Regions from separate parts of the Homo sapiens genome. Here regions 1 and 2 are each linked to region 3. The links are contacts of gene promoters, found by promoter capture Hi-C in blood cells and fetal thymus (Javierre and others, 2016). All regions are on one chromosome and are shown on one strand. Each heading gives the region's core, a stretch centred on a gene start or on the middle of the fragment in contact. The rest is flanking DNA. Distances are from core to core; before and after follow the strand shown.

Evidence for each region. Contacts are between HindIII fragments. The CHiCAGO score rates a contact against its expected background, and 5 or more counts as called.
Region 1: a fragment that was not itself captured here is called in contact with the fragment with the promoter of DCUN1D4 in region 3 in 1 of 17 cell types (non-activated CD4 T cells); the score reaches 5.9 in non-activated CD4 T cells.
Region 2: the fragment with the promoter of PDGFRA here is called in contact with the fragment with the promoter of DCUN1D4 in region 3 in 2 of 17 cell types (naive CD8 T cells and total B cells); the score reaches 6.3 in naive CD8 T cells.

What each region holds. Positions count from the first base shown.
Region 1 is chr4:54,092,538-54,096,259 of GRCh38, reverse strand. No RefSeq gene overlaps it. Among named protein-coding and RNA genes, the nearest start is that of GSX2, 5.8 kb to the left of the region's middle. RefSeq lists enhancers at 1-429, 2,617-3,236. The HindIII fragment of the contact is 557 bases long and covers 1,760-2,316 here.
Region 2 is chr4:54,226,871-54,230,966 of GRCh38, reverse strand. PDGFRA (platelet derived growth factor receptor alpha) reads right to left here and starts at 1,674. Exons shown (of 23, transcript NM_006206.6): 1 at 1,552-1,674. RefSeq lists enhancers at 2,376-3,201, 4,030-4,096. The HindIII fragment of the contact is 8,996 bases long and covers 1-2,536 here.
Region 3 is chr4:51,840,878-51,844,528 of GRCh38, reverse strand. It overlaps DCUN1D4 (defective in cullin neddylation 1 domain containing 4), which reads right to left and starts at 1,376. Exons shown (of 11, transcript NM_001040402.3): 1 at 1,262-1,376. The coding sequence starts at 1,286. RefSeq lists silencers at 149-268, 819-898, 999-1,348, 1,439-1,488, 1,499-1,648. The HindIII fragment of the contact is 3,870 bases long and covers 238-3,651 here.

The DNA of each region.
Region 1 (3,722 bases), core at 789-3,288, 2.3 Mb before region 3:
TACCCAAAAATTGAAAAGAACCGCTTAGTCTTCAAGAAAGTCCTCAATAATAGTGGAAAAGAACAAAGATCCAGGAGACAACAAAATGCCACAGGGGTGACTTTTCATGAGCAATTATCTCTCATTAATCAGAAGAACAGCTGCAATATTAATTTTCTCTCTTTCTTCCTCTCTTTTCACAGTCCCCAACATTTGAATAATCATAAATTTTGATTTTATGAAGGAGTCACATTTTCAGGGGCTGGAGGAAAGCAGCTACCTAGGTGAAGACAAGAAGAAAATGCTCTCATTTTATTTTATTTTTTGTTTGGGTAAAGCTGCCAACAAAGCAAAATGGAAAAAATAAAAATAAGAAATGCCAGAGAAAATGCCCCCCCCCCTTTCTTCTTCTAGATGGCTGTTGAGAATAAGGACTCTCTTCTCCCCCACCCTCTGCTCACAACTACCCCTCCTTTCTTTCCTCCCCCCGCCCAGACCCATTCCCCAGTTTTGCTCTGAGCAGGGCGGAGGGAAACGTCCCTGGCGTCTGGCGTGGGAGTTTCAGCCGGGTTTCTGCCCGTTTAACTTGCAAACGTGAAGCCAAGCGTTGTCGATCTGACCAAAGAGACACTCTTTGGGCGTAACTTGCATTGTGGCCATCAAAAGCCCGCCAGCCTTGGATGAACTGAGAAGTGTATTCAGCAGAAATGGGGCGCTCGCTCTCCTTTCAGGCTCTGGAGAGGCAATTGTTCACAGGATGTGTAGCCAGGGTGGAAAACGTGGGTCCCCAGATAAGGCTATAACCTGCAAACGAGCTTGGGGGAGTTAAAAGAATCTCATTAAAGCCCCGGCTGCAATTAGCAAATACACACTCATAGAGAACTCAAGCTCCTCTTGAAAAGCTGTGGGTCAAGATGAAAGAGGGCAGTTGGGAGCTAGTCCCCACATTCTTGTACTGCTTGAGTGATGGGGGGCTCAGGAGCCAGGCTATTCCTTCAGCTGCCCCAATATTGTTAGTTTTAATGCAAGGCCAGGGAAGGCCTTTCTAGAGGGAGGGCAGGCTGTGGGCCCTGTGTTCATGCACCACCAAAAATAATCTTGCTTCTCCCTGGTGTTTATTCAGAACGGATGGGCTTTTGAGAAACCTGAATTCGCCTTTGTGCTCACCACAGTTGCAAGAGTTCAATTCGGCCCTCTGAGAAGAAGCAGCGGGGAGAGGGGGGTGGGGGGTGGTAGTGGAGGTCTTCTGAGAAATAAGTGAGGGGTTTGGCTTAGAATTTCAGGAACGGCCCAGTTGGAAAAAAGTTGTGATGGCACTGAATGCCTGCCACACAGCCCCTCTGCTCCCCACTTCACTTTAATTAATATTCGCCCACCCCCAAATCCTCAAGCCGAACAAGGCATCCCTCTCCCACCCTCAGAGCTCTCCTCTGTCATCAGAATAAAATTTATCGAGCGCCTACTCTGTGCCCAGCGTGTGCTAGGCACTGCAGGGAGCAGGCCTGAAAAGGCCAAGACAGTATCCAATAGAATATTGTTTCATTTCAGTAACAATGGCCTGAGGTGGGGAACAATTATCCGGATAATTGAAGCAAATGCTTCACCTCCCTCCCTCCCTCTCCAGTTCTCCTGGCACTTACTATTTTTTACTACCCTATTCAGAGATGTGGTTTTTGTATTGGAGGGCGGGCGGGGGAGGCAGGAGTGTGTAAGAGGAGGGTTGAATTATTCACATGCATACCAATTCCCCACTTCCCTTGGCCTAAATTTTCTGAAAGCTTGGAGCCAAAATAGCTGCTTAGTTATGGGAGCAAAGACTTAAAAAAAAAAAAGTCACTAAAATAAGAGCAATTCTTTATAATTTTTAGCAGCCCAGCCCTTCTGGTTTTTGATCTTGGTCATCTACAAAAATCACCTGGAGAGCTTTATAAAAATACTGATTACCTAAGGGATTTCGATTTAATGATGTGAGGCTGGAACACGGCGGGGTGTAGATGGAGGGGGAGACAGAAGTCAACCAGAATTCTGCATGCGGTTCTGATGTAGTTGAGAAATAACTGATAAATCCTGCCCCCTACGCCCTCCTACCATGGAATCTGAAGAGAGCAACGTAACTTTTTTGAGCCTTATCTGGTCATTTGATAGTTGGAAAGTGTGTATTGAGCGCCTATTATACCCCAGGCTGCGCGCAAGGGAATTCAGTAGCACAAGACCCGCCCCCGGGGAGTTTCCAGGTTAAGCGAATCAACAAATTAACTCGGAGCTGGTGAGTTAAAAAGGTCGTGTGAATATGAAAGAAAAGCTCAAGGGGCTCTGGGTGATGATAAAACCGAAGCTTGAAGTGACATTTAAACGGAGACCTGCAAGATGTGCGGGTGTTGGCCTGGGAAAGAGGGATGGGGAATGCGTTCCCGGCCACCTAAGGGTGCTCACGGGAGCCTCCGAGAGTTTCTCTTGGTTAATTGCAAAAACTGAAAGGAGGCCTAGGAAAGTGGAGAAAGAATTTCAGTTTCTGCATCTGTAAAATAGAGAAAATGCCATCGTCTTCGAGTTTTTGTGAGGAATTCAGGACTGCCTAACACCGGGCCTGGTGCCTGGTAAGGCTCGTGGCTTCTCTTGTTGGTTTTATTATTATCTGAGACCTGCAGCTCCATAGGCTCTTGAAGCTTGTAAATTAGGTATCAGAGTCCCTGGGCTTGGCAACTAGGAGCCAGGAAGCCGCTGCACAATCATCTCTCCGTCCCCCCGCGCCTTTTCCCGGCCGAGTGTTGCCCTCTAAGGCTCCTCCACAGCCTGGCGCTCGCACCCTGAAGGCGCCCAGTGTGGGGCCTTTCTATCCCTCGGTTTCCGGGCATATGTTTGTTCAGCAGTTACATTAACCTCGCCACTCCCCACCCCCGTCAAAGGCTCTGGCGTCCTGGCCGTCCCTACTTGGGACTGCGCCCTAAATTTCAAAACGTTCCTATGATATTAGAAACCTCCCAGCTTTGCTGCACACCCACCTGCTTTGCATAGGAGGAAAACAGTCGCCTTTCGAGTATATGACAATACTCGTAGGTACATTTTCTGAGCTCTCACTGTGTGGCAGTTCTTGAACCAAGAGCCTTGCCTGCATGACCTCATTAATCCGCACAACAGCCCTCCCAGATAAAATGCCATTATTTTCTCCTCATTATGTTTGCGGAGAACCCTATTTGAACTACTGAAGTTCAAAGACTGAACCAAGGTCACACAGCTAGTGATGGCAGAGCCTTTTAGGCACTAAGCAATACTAACCACCTGATAACACCTAGCATTTATTGAACACCTACTATATGCCTGGCAGTGGCTGAAGACTTTAATGCCTCCTTTATTTCTCACAGCAACCCTGTGAGGTAGGTGCTTTTATTACTTCCTTATTTGTTGGCTGTCCATTTGTTGGTTAGTGTGGTTGGTTTTCCTACATATTAAAGGTTCTGAGGGCCAGTCCAATGTACGGACTGAAATTAGAATGAGGACAGGGAACATGATTGTTTTTATTCACCTGTGCCCAGAACACAGTAAGCGCTGAAAAACATTTGGAGTGGATGAAAGCAATATTTTATTATTTAATTCAAAAGCCCTCTTCATAATCAATCCGTATGCTTGTTGACTGCAAACTGCTCCTGGGCAGAAACTGGGTCTGTTTTATGTATTCACCAGTGTATGCCAAATGTCCAGACCAGAGGTGACATATATTAGGATGGCAATTAATATTTGTTGAA
Region 2 (4,096 bases), core at 425-2,924, 2.4 Mb before region 3:
CACACTCGTCGCTCCGACCTGGCCGACACCCTCCCGGAATAGAACAGCTGATCCCACATATTCAATGCCAAATGGACGCCGCCCGCTCCCTGGGCGCAGCCGGGCGGAGTTAATTTCGTGTGTAAATCTGGTTTCCATGGGGGTAGACAGCAGAGGAAGGAGAAGTACGCACAGACGGCTCTGAAGCCGGCAGGGAGAGGAATGGAAAAAAGGCCAACTAGAGAGGACCGAGCAGCGCTGGGCGAGCTCAGACGGCAAGTGCCACGCACCCCCGCGCGGAGAAGGGTGCCGGGTAGGGGGTGTCCAGGGCTCGGGTGCCCGGAGGGAGAATATGGTTTACCTCCCACCTTTCTGTCTTACCTGCAAACAAGTTTCCCCAGTTCCAAGTCGTCCCTAACTTCCTCACAAGAAGTTCGGCACCTTCCTGGAGACCTTTCCTCTCTTCCTGCCTGCGGCCAGAACTGAGCGAAAGCAGAGCCCCCGGGCAATGCAGAAATGATTCCACCGAGGAGGGGGCGCGGGAAGACAGGCGGGGGCGGGGGCCACGGAGCACAATGAGGGCCCCTTGGTGTGCGGTTCGAAATTCCTCAAATCCCAGTTGCTGGAATGCGAGGCGACGACGACTTCTTCACTCAGGGCCAAATGTGTTTGTCATTATTCCAGACCGCCCGCCCGCGCCGCCGCTGTCGCCCCCGCGCTAGGGCGTGCAACCCGAGCACACTGCCCGGCAGGCACCCGCTCTCCCTGGCACCTCACTGACCCAACAAACCGCTCCAGAGCGCCCCAAACCCTTGCCCACGCCCGCGCGCCTCTGCTTGTCCCGCAGCCGCCTCACCGCCGCGCCAAATCTGGCCCCGACTCTCTCCCAGAGCAGCGCCGTCCAGTAATCACGCGCATTCGGCCGGCTCCCTGTGCTGTAGGCCAACACCGAGGTCCGGTCTCCAGCCGAGCCCAGCCCGCCTCCTGCGCCCCGCAACCCCTTCGCGCGCCCCCCTCCACGCTCCCCTCCACGCTCCCCTCTCCCCACCTCCCCCTGGTCCCCCAGCCGCGCTCCACACCATGGGCTGCAGCGCTGTCCCGCCAAACCGCAGGCGAGGAATGAAAACACTCATTTAAAACCTGTCGCCTTCCAGGACCCACTGCCAAGAAGAGGGCAAACACCTCTGCCTCCACCCCCAGTTCCTTGGTGTTCGGCCCAGTATTCACGAACACCACCCCCACTCCCAAAAGAAACCTCAAAAATGTAAGCCTAAACAATTTCTTTGGGAGGCCATAGGGTTGTTAGAAAAACATTGTTTTTAAAAATAGGTCTGGAAAATGTGTGTTTAAAAAAAATACCTAGACTTTCTAACTCTATGGTTATCTCCCACCCGTCCCCAAGTGAAGTTTATTCCGAAAAAAAAAAATTACTCTCTGGACACACAACTGGAATCCAGCTCCTTTTTTTTTTTCTTGTCGCCCAAAGTTTGAAGTTACTTCGCTTTCTCCAGTCCCAGAGTCTGATCAGGGACTTCCCTTATAAACAAAAAATCATTTTTTCTTTTCCCTTACCTTCTCCTCCGATGTTATTCCGCAATGAATGTCCCACACATGGAGTAAAGAGCGTGCCCACGGCCTCCAATGATCTCTTGCAGTCTCCTCCTCTGTTTCTCTCCCTGTAGCTCCAACAGTAATGGGCTCAAAAACCGCGTTTTGTAATTGATTCAATGTTATAGTCCATCCTTCTAAAACTAATCATTTGCTCTAAGTAAATAGCTGTCAGGAAATAAGCCCCCCCTCAACCTTGGTCTCTTCAAAATAAAAGTTTCTCTCAAACTCCCTGCGCTCCGAATCTCCCAGTGTCCAGATTGCGCCTTCGCTTTTTGCTCTTACGCAATCAGGGGGTCCAGTCCCAACCCCCAGACTTCGACAACAACTGGGGGGCGGGGAGAAGCAGACCAGATGGGATGGGGGGTGGTGGAAGGGGGAGGTGTTGGTGCTCTGCCGGGAAAGAGGTTTTGTGAAACTACAAACAGCCCATCATTTCCAGAATGAGTTTGCCTCCCCATTTTGGGGTTATTTTCTTAGACTGCTATAGTTTTGTATTCTCTTTGAAAAGAAGAAAAGGAACATACAAAATTGCATTTAATACCCAGAGAGAATATAAATCTAGAATCAAGAAATGTCCCTTCTACAAACTCGGCCCAACGAGAAATAGGGCCCTCGGGAGAAATCTCCAAGCGGTTGCGCCGTTTTGAACTAGGGGTCTTTTAGGGGAAGGGCTATATAGTTGCTAGTTATTTAATAGGATTGGGCAAACTGTTGAGTCCAATATGACAATGATGGGTTTTTGTTTTGTGTGGTGTGTGTGTGTGTACAAGACTGGGTGGTCTGAAATACGGTACAAAGAAAAGAGGGTCTGTGTAGGTTTGGAACGTTCTCCGATAGAACGACCTTTACTCCCTTGAAGTCACTTATCTGGTCGTGCCTTTGTTTTCGGGGTTATCTGGGCGAGGTTGCCCTGGCTTCTATCTCGCATACAAAAAAAGCTCAAGCTTGGGCGTTTGAGGAATCGTACCACCGCCTCCGCGTCGTGGGGGAGGATGCCTTTTGATTCTCCCTCCGTTCCCTCCCGCCGCGTGGGTCGAACCCTACGAATTCCTTGGAATTGACAGCTGAGCCCCAAACCCTGCGCCCAAGGCGAGAGGCCAGTGTCGGGAGGAAACGATCCTGCCGGCGAGGGAAAGGGGGCGCTGATGCTCCAGGAACCAGACCTGGGCAGAGTGGGGCTTCCCAGCGACAGCGGGGGAGGGGAGCGCGTTCACCTTCATCGCTCTCTGATTTTTGAATTCTCCTGTTGGGGTTGGGGGTCATCCTTCATCCTTCTCCCTCAACCCCACCCCAACACACGCACTCTGAAAATGGCCAAAGTGGCCAGGTTGGGACTGGCATGTCCAACAGCCGTCTCCTCCTTCACCAGGAGGGTGGACACAGTGCAGTGGACAGGGGAGAGTCACAGAGAAGTACTCCAACGGGCGCGGTGCTGTGCCTAACCAGGACAGGATCTTGGGATGTCAGCCTCGAAAACAGGGCGCCTGGGGCTGCGCTGGGGGTCCCATTGCCGCAGTTCTTCTACGCGACCCGCTCTCGTGCATCTTCAGCTTGGGTGACTGCACCGCTCGCTATTACTTCCACATGTCCCTTCAGGAAATCATTGAAGGCAAATATATGAACAGCCCCTTGTTCGGAATGCTAACAGGATACCGTAATGTTTGTAGAAAATGAGCGGGAACAAACGATCCCCCCAAAAATCAGAGTGCGGAATAAAAGGCAAAAGCGGGTGCTGGGCCACATGCTGTTAAGTTGAGAACCGGGTTTTTAGGCTAGTTGCCCCAGAGGGTAGGAGGCGAGACAGACAGCCTACCCAGAGGGGCTGCTTTGCTTCGGCGACACTGTTAGTCCGGTCAAGCCAGGGTCTTCCGTCCGCAGGGCCCCAGCGCTCTCCGCCCACAAATGGTAACTTCACAGTTCATTTCAGAGCCGTTTAATGGGGCCCGAGAAGCAGTCCGGGCGGGAGTGTCTCCAGGCAGCGACTCCTCGGGAGTTTAAAGCAGAAAGCAATGGATGAGCAAGCGAGCACCCAGTTGTCCTTCTGGTAGTAATTACCTGCCTAATTTGAATGATGCCTTTGTTATGATCATTAACAAACATTTGCTAAAGGTTTCCATGTGTGACATTCTGGAAGGTTTAAAGGCCTGAGGAGCTGACTCCAGGGATAGTGCCCCGGTGGGGGGTGGCGCAAGAAAGCAAATGGTTGGGGGAAAATTTTGCGGAGAGACTGTGCAAAGAAGAGAGGTCAACATCTGCCTCCTCTGCAAAAGCAAAATAAACCCAGTGGTCAGGAGCAACCTCCGGACAGGAGGCCCTCGAACCGAGGCGGTTGGTTCCTTAAACCGAGTCCTGCCCCCACAGCCCCCGCCCCTACCACTGCTCATAGGCGGGTTTGAATCCTGTTTTCCGCCTTCTAAGGCTGGTCCGAGGCTGGTTCGGGAGAAGTCGGGTCTGCGCCCGGCAGTCAGTCCGGGGCGTCGGGGGAAGGTGGGGCTAGTTCTTGCCG
Region 3 (3,651 bases), core at 127-2,626:
CTCCCCGGCGCCAAGCCCCCGACCCGGCCATCAGGGCCCGACCCCTCCGGCTCCCGCTGCTGAAACCCCGCAGCCCGCACCCCTGCCCCGCCTCCTAGTCCCGCTGCCGGAGCCCGCGCCAGCGCTGACCTCGCTTCCCGCCGTCCGGGGGGAACCACGGCCAGTTCCAACCTTAGGGCACTTACCCCGTCTCCTCCACCTCAGCCCCGCCCCCTCCTCTCTCCGCACCCCGAAGCTTGGACTCCCCCCTTCAAGGGACCCTGCCTCGACAGGGAGAGGAAGTACCTCCCCTAAGCACAGTCTGACACCCCCTTAGCCCGGCTCCGGACCGAATCTGGACGTGACAGTCCTCCTGCCCAACTCCGCCCCACCTCCCCTTCCTCCCCGACTAGCTCCTCACCCCCATTTCATATTCTCCACCCCTGCCCCCACTCTGCCACCCCAAATCCTACCCACCTTTTTCTCCTCTTCCTCCCAATCGCCCTACCCTTCCACACCTGCCCCATCTCTTTACCCCAACATCTTCCACTCCCACCACTCTCCGTTACCCACCGCCCTTCCAACGCCCCTCCCGCCCCGCAGGACTCCCCAACTACCATTACACCCCAGTCCCTCCCACCACCTCGCTTTCCCGTTACATCAGCCCTCGTCCAGTCGCCCGCCCTCCTGCCCCGCTCGGCCGCTGCCCCCATTCCCCCACCCCATTGTTCGCCGCCCCCCCCCCACCCCCCCGCCAACCAGCCCTTCTTCCCATTGTCCCCGCCCCCGCGCCCCCCTCGCACTCACCCGCCTTTCTCACGGAGCCGCCCGCACCACTCAGCCCTTTGGAAATCCTCACCCTTGTGCCCCGCTCGCTCGCTCGCTCCCTCCCTCTCCCCGCCGGTGCCACCCCCCCACATCCCCGGCCCTGCCCGCTACAGCCCAACGCTGCCTCCACCTCCATGCACCCCGGACACTCCGATCTCGGCCCTTCATCGCACGTCCAGCCCTCCCTTCCCCCAACACTGAAAGAGAGCCAGTCCCCACCCCCCTCACCTCCGCCCTCCCCGCAGGCCGGTCCCTTCCCCCCACGCCCGCCCCCGCCCCACGCCGCCCGCAGCGTCACCGCCCGCCCCGGCCCCGGGAGGGGAAGGGGTGGTTCCCAGGCAGGGGCTCCCGGCGCGTTTCGGGACCCGAGGCGTGGGGCGGGGACTGCGGGAGCCGAGTGGCGAGTTTGGCAGCCGCCCGGCCCCGGCCCGCTGGCTGGCTCTCTGCTACTCACTGACAGCGGCGGCATCCGAGTGCATTTTCAGGCAGCTCACACCCGGCTCGCCGCCCAGGCTCCCGCGCTCGCCTCGCGGTCCCCCCACCAGCTCACTGCACCTCGGCTCGAAGCTGAGGACCCGCCGCCGGGCACTCCCAGCCCGCCCATCTCGCCTTCTCCATTGGCTAAACCGCGGCTCAGGGGCCGCCCTGCTGCGTCTCTCATTTGACAAAAGGAGTGCCCATAGCGCCGGTCTGGAGCTGGCAACGAGGCCCCGCCCCCCACTGGCCAATACGATTGGTCCTGGGGCCTTGTCTCCGTAACGCCCCTGGCGGAGGCCATGCTCCGGAGCAGCGGGTTGGGCCCGGCTGCTGTCAGTCACCCCCAGGGGTCCGAGAGCGCGTGTAGGGGCGAAGCTGGGAAATTGGTCCACCTTGACCCTGAAACCCCGCCCAGTGGCGGGCGGGATTGGTGGAGCTGGAGACCCACCAAGAAAGATGGGTCGGCGTCTGAAACAAAGCACGCGAAGTGTTTCCCAAAGAATAGAGCAGCGCAGCGCAGTTGGGGGCGGCTCGTACCAGCTGCTGGAAGTAGGGAAATGCGTCCGTCCCTAGCGCCCGGCGCGACGCGGCCGGGTCTCCCGCCACTTGTCCCACGACACTTGTCCAGTTCGCGCCGAACTCGGACTGGGACTTCTCTTGTCAGCTGCTTCCTACCGCAGGAAACTGGATTAAGAATTGCCGCGTCTTAATTTCCAGCAAACCTTCTGGTGGGGAGCAAATTTCCATTTCTCCTACGAAGATCCATCCTCTCCCCACTTTCGAAATGTACTTCTTTTCCAGAGTCCGCATACTTGTTTCGCAGAGTTCGCACACTTCTTTCCTCTAGTCACTAATGTCTGTTAAAGAGGCTTCGAATGCCACGAGCATTGTCCGTCACACACATCTGTATGCCCCAGACATCAGACAGAAATACAGGGCCGCGCTCTGAGCTGCGGACTGAGCCTAACACATGGACGAGTCCAGGGGGCAGACCACCAGCCCGTGAAAGACCCCCGGCGGCATCTAAGAAAACCTGTCACTCCCGCGGAGAGGCCGTCCAGAAATTGAAACTGGCTGTTATTTGGCAGAGGGAGACGTTAATTTTGGTGAATTCTTCTGACCCTAAGTCAAGAATTCGCACCATTTCCATGAGTCCTGCCCTGATTTTTCAATACTTGAAGCTAACTTATCACACCGCATTATGGTAACAGAACAATATTTCGAGATATTAACGGAGGATTCCCCCCACCCCAACCCACCCCCACCCTACCCTGCCTCCACCCTCATCCCAGCCACCAACTCCAACAACAACACACCTACAAGGCATCCCCATATCCTAAGGCCCTGGGCCATCTGGGAGCCTCAAAGAGTAGGTGACACCACAAATCACAGGTAACAGAACGCACGGTCTTTTTGGTTTTAGATTTCTACAGCCCAGGCTTTTGGGTTTCCAGGCTCTGAAATTTAGATTTTAAATCAGGACACAAATGTTATGCTATTTGGAAGGGGCTCAGACAAACCAGTTTCTGTGTCCCACAGCACTCCCATGGTAAAATGCTCCCTCCATCTTAATCGCTAATTTCTCTTTAATAAATTACATCCTTATAATACTATTTATATAATATTTTTATCATTCAAACATTTATGAATCACTTTATGGAATCTCAGAACTGTACCTGAAGTTATTTATTATTTGCTTCAGGTTCTTTCGCAAGACAAGAATCTCTCATAGAACATCCTTATTGATCACCTTTATCATGACAGTACCTCAGCGGGGCCCCACAGTGATGGGTAGGTACCTCTGGACTCTGAGATAGGGGATTGCTTGTTGGGCAGATCTAGCAGTAAGAATATCCGCCCTTACTCTGAGCAGGGAAGCTGCTCCTGCATTCTTTATTCTATTTATGTTTCAGCTTAATCTACATCTAGGAAATAATAAATTATATGTCATTTAATACAAGTTTCAAATCTTTTGTGTGTGTAATATTTATGATTTTTTTTTTTACCGTTTACCATGGTACTTCAAAGACTGAGACACATGTTATTTTGCACAGAAAAGGGCTTCCTTCGTGACACCTCTAAATTACAATAAGCCCACAATTAATTATAGCTAGTCATTTGCTCTATTAATTTATTTGCAGCATACTTTATAATAATGTGTATAAGAGTTAAGCTAGATGAAGGATGGGTCGGCTGCTTTGCCCCAGCTCCCAACACTGGCCTGGCATATGCATGGTGTCCATAAAAATTTATAGAATGTACAACCTCTGTTATTTCTCAACATTGCTTTCAGTTGAGTCAGTATGATTATTTTCAAGTAGAAAACAGACTTAGAGGTAATTTACCCAGATCTTTATAAAGAGTCAG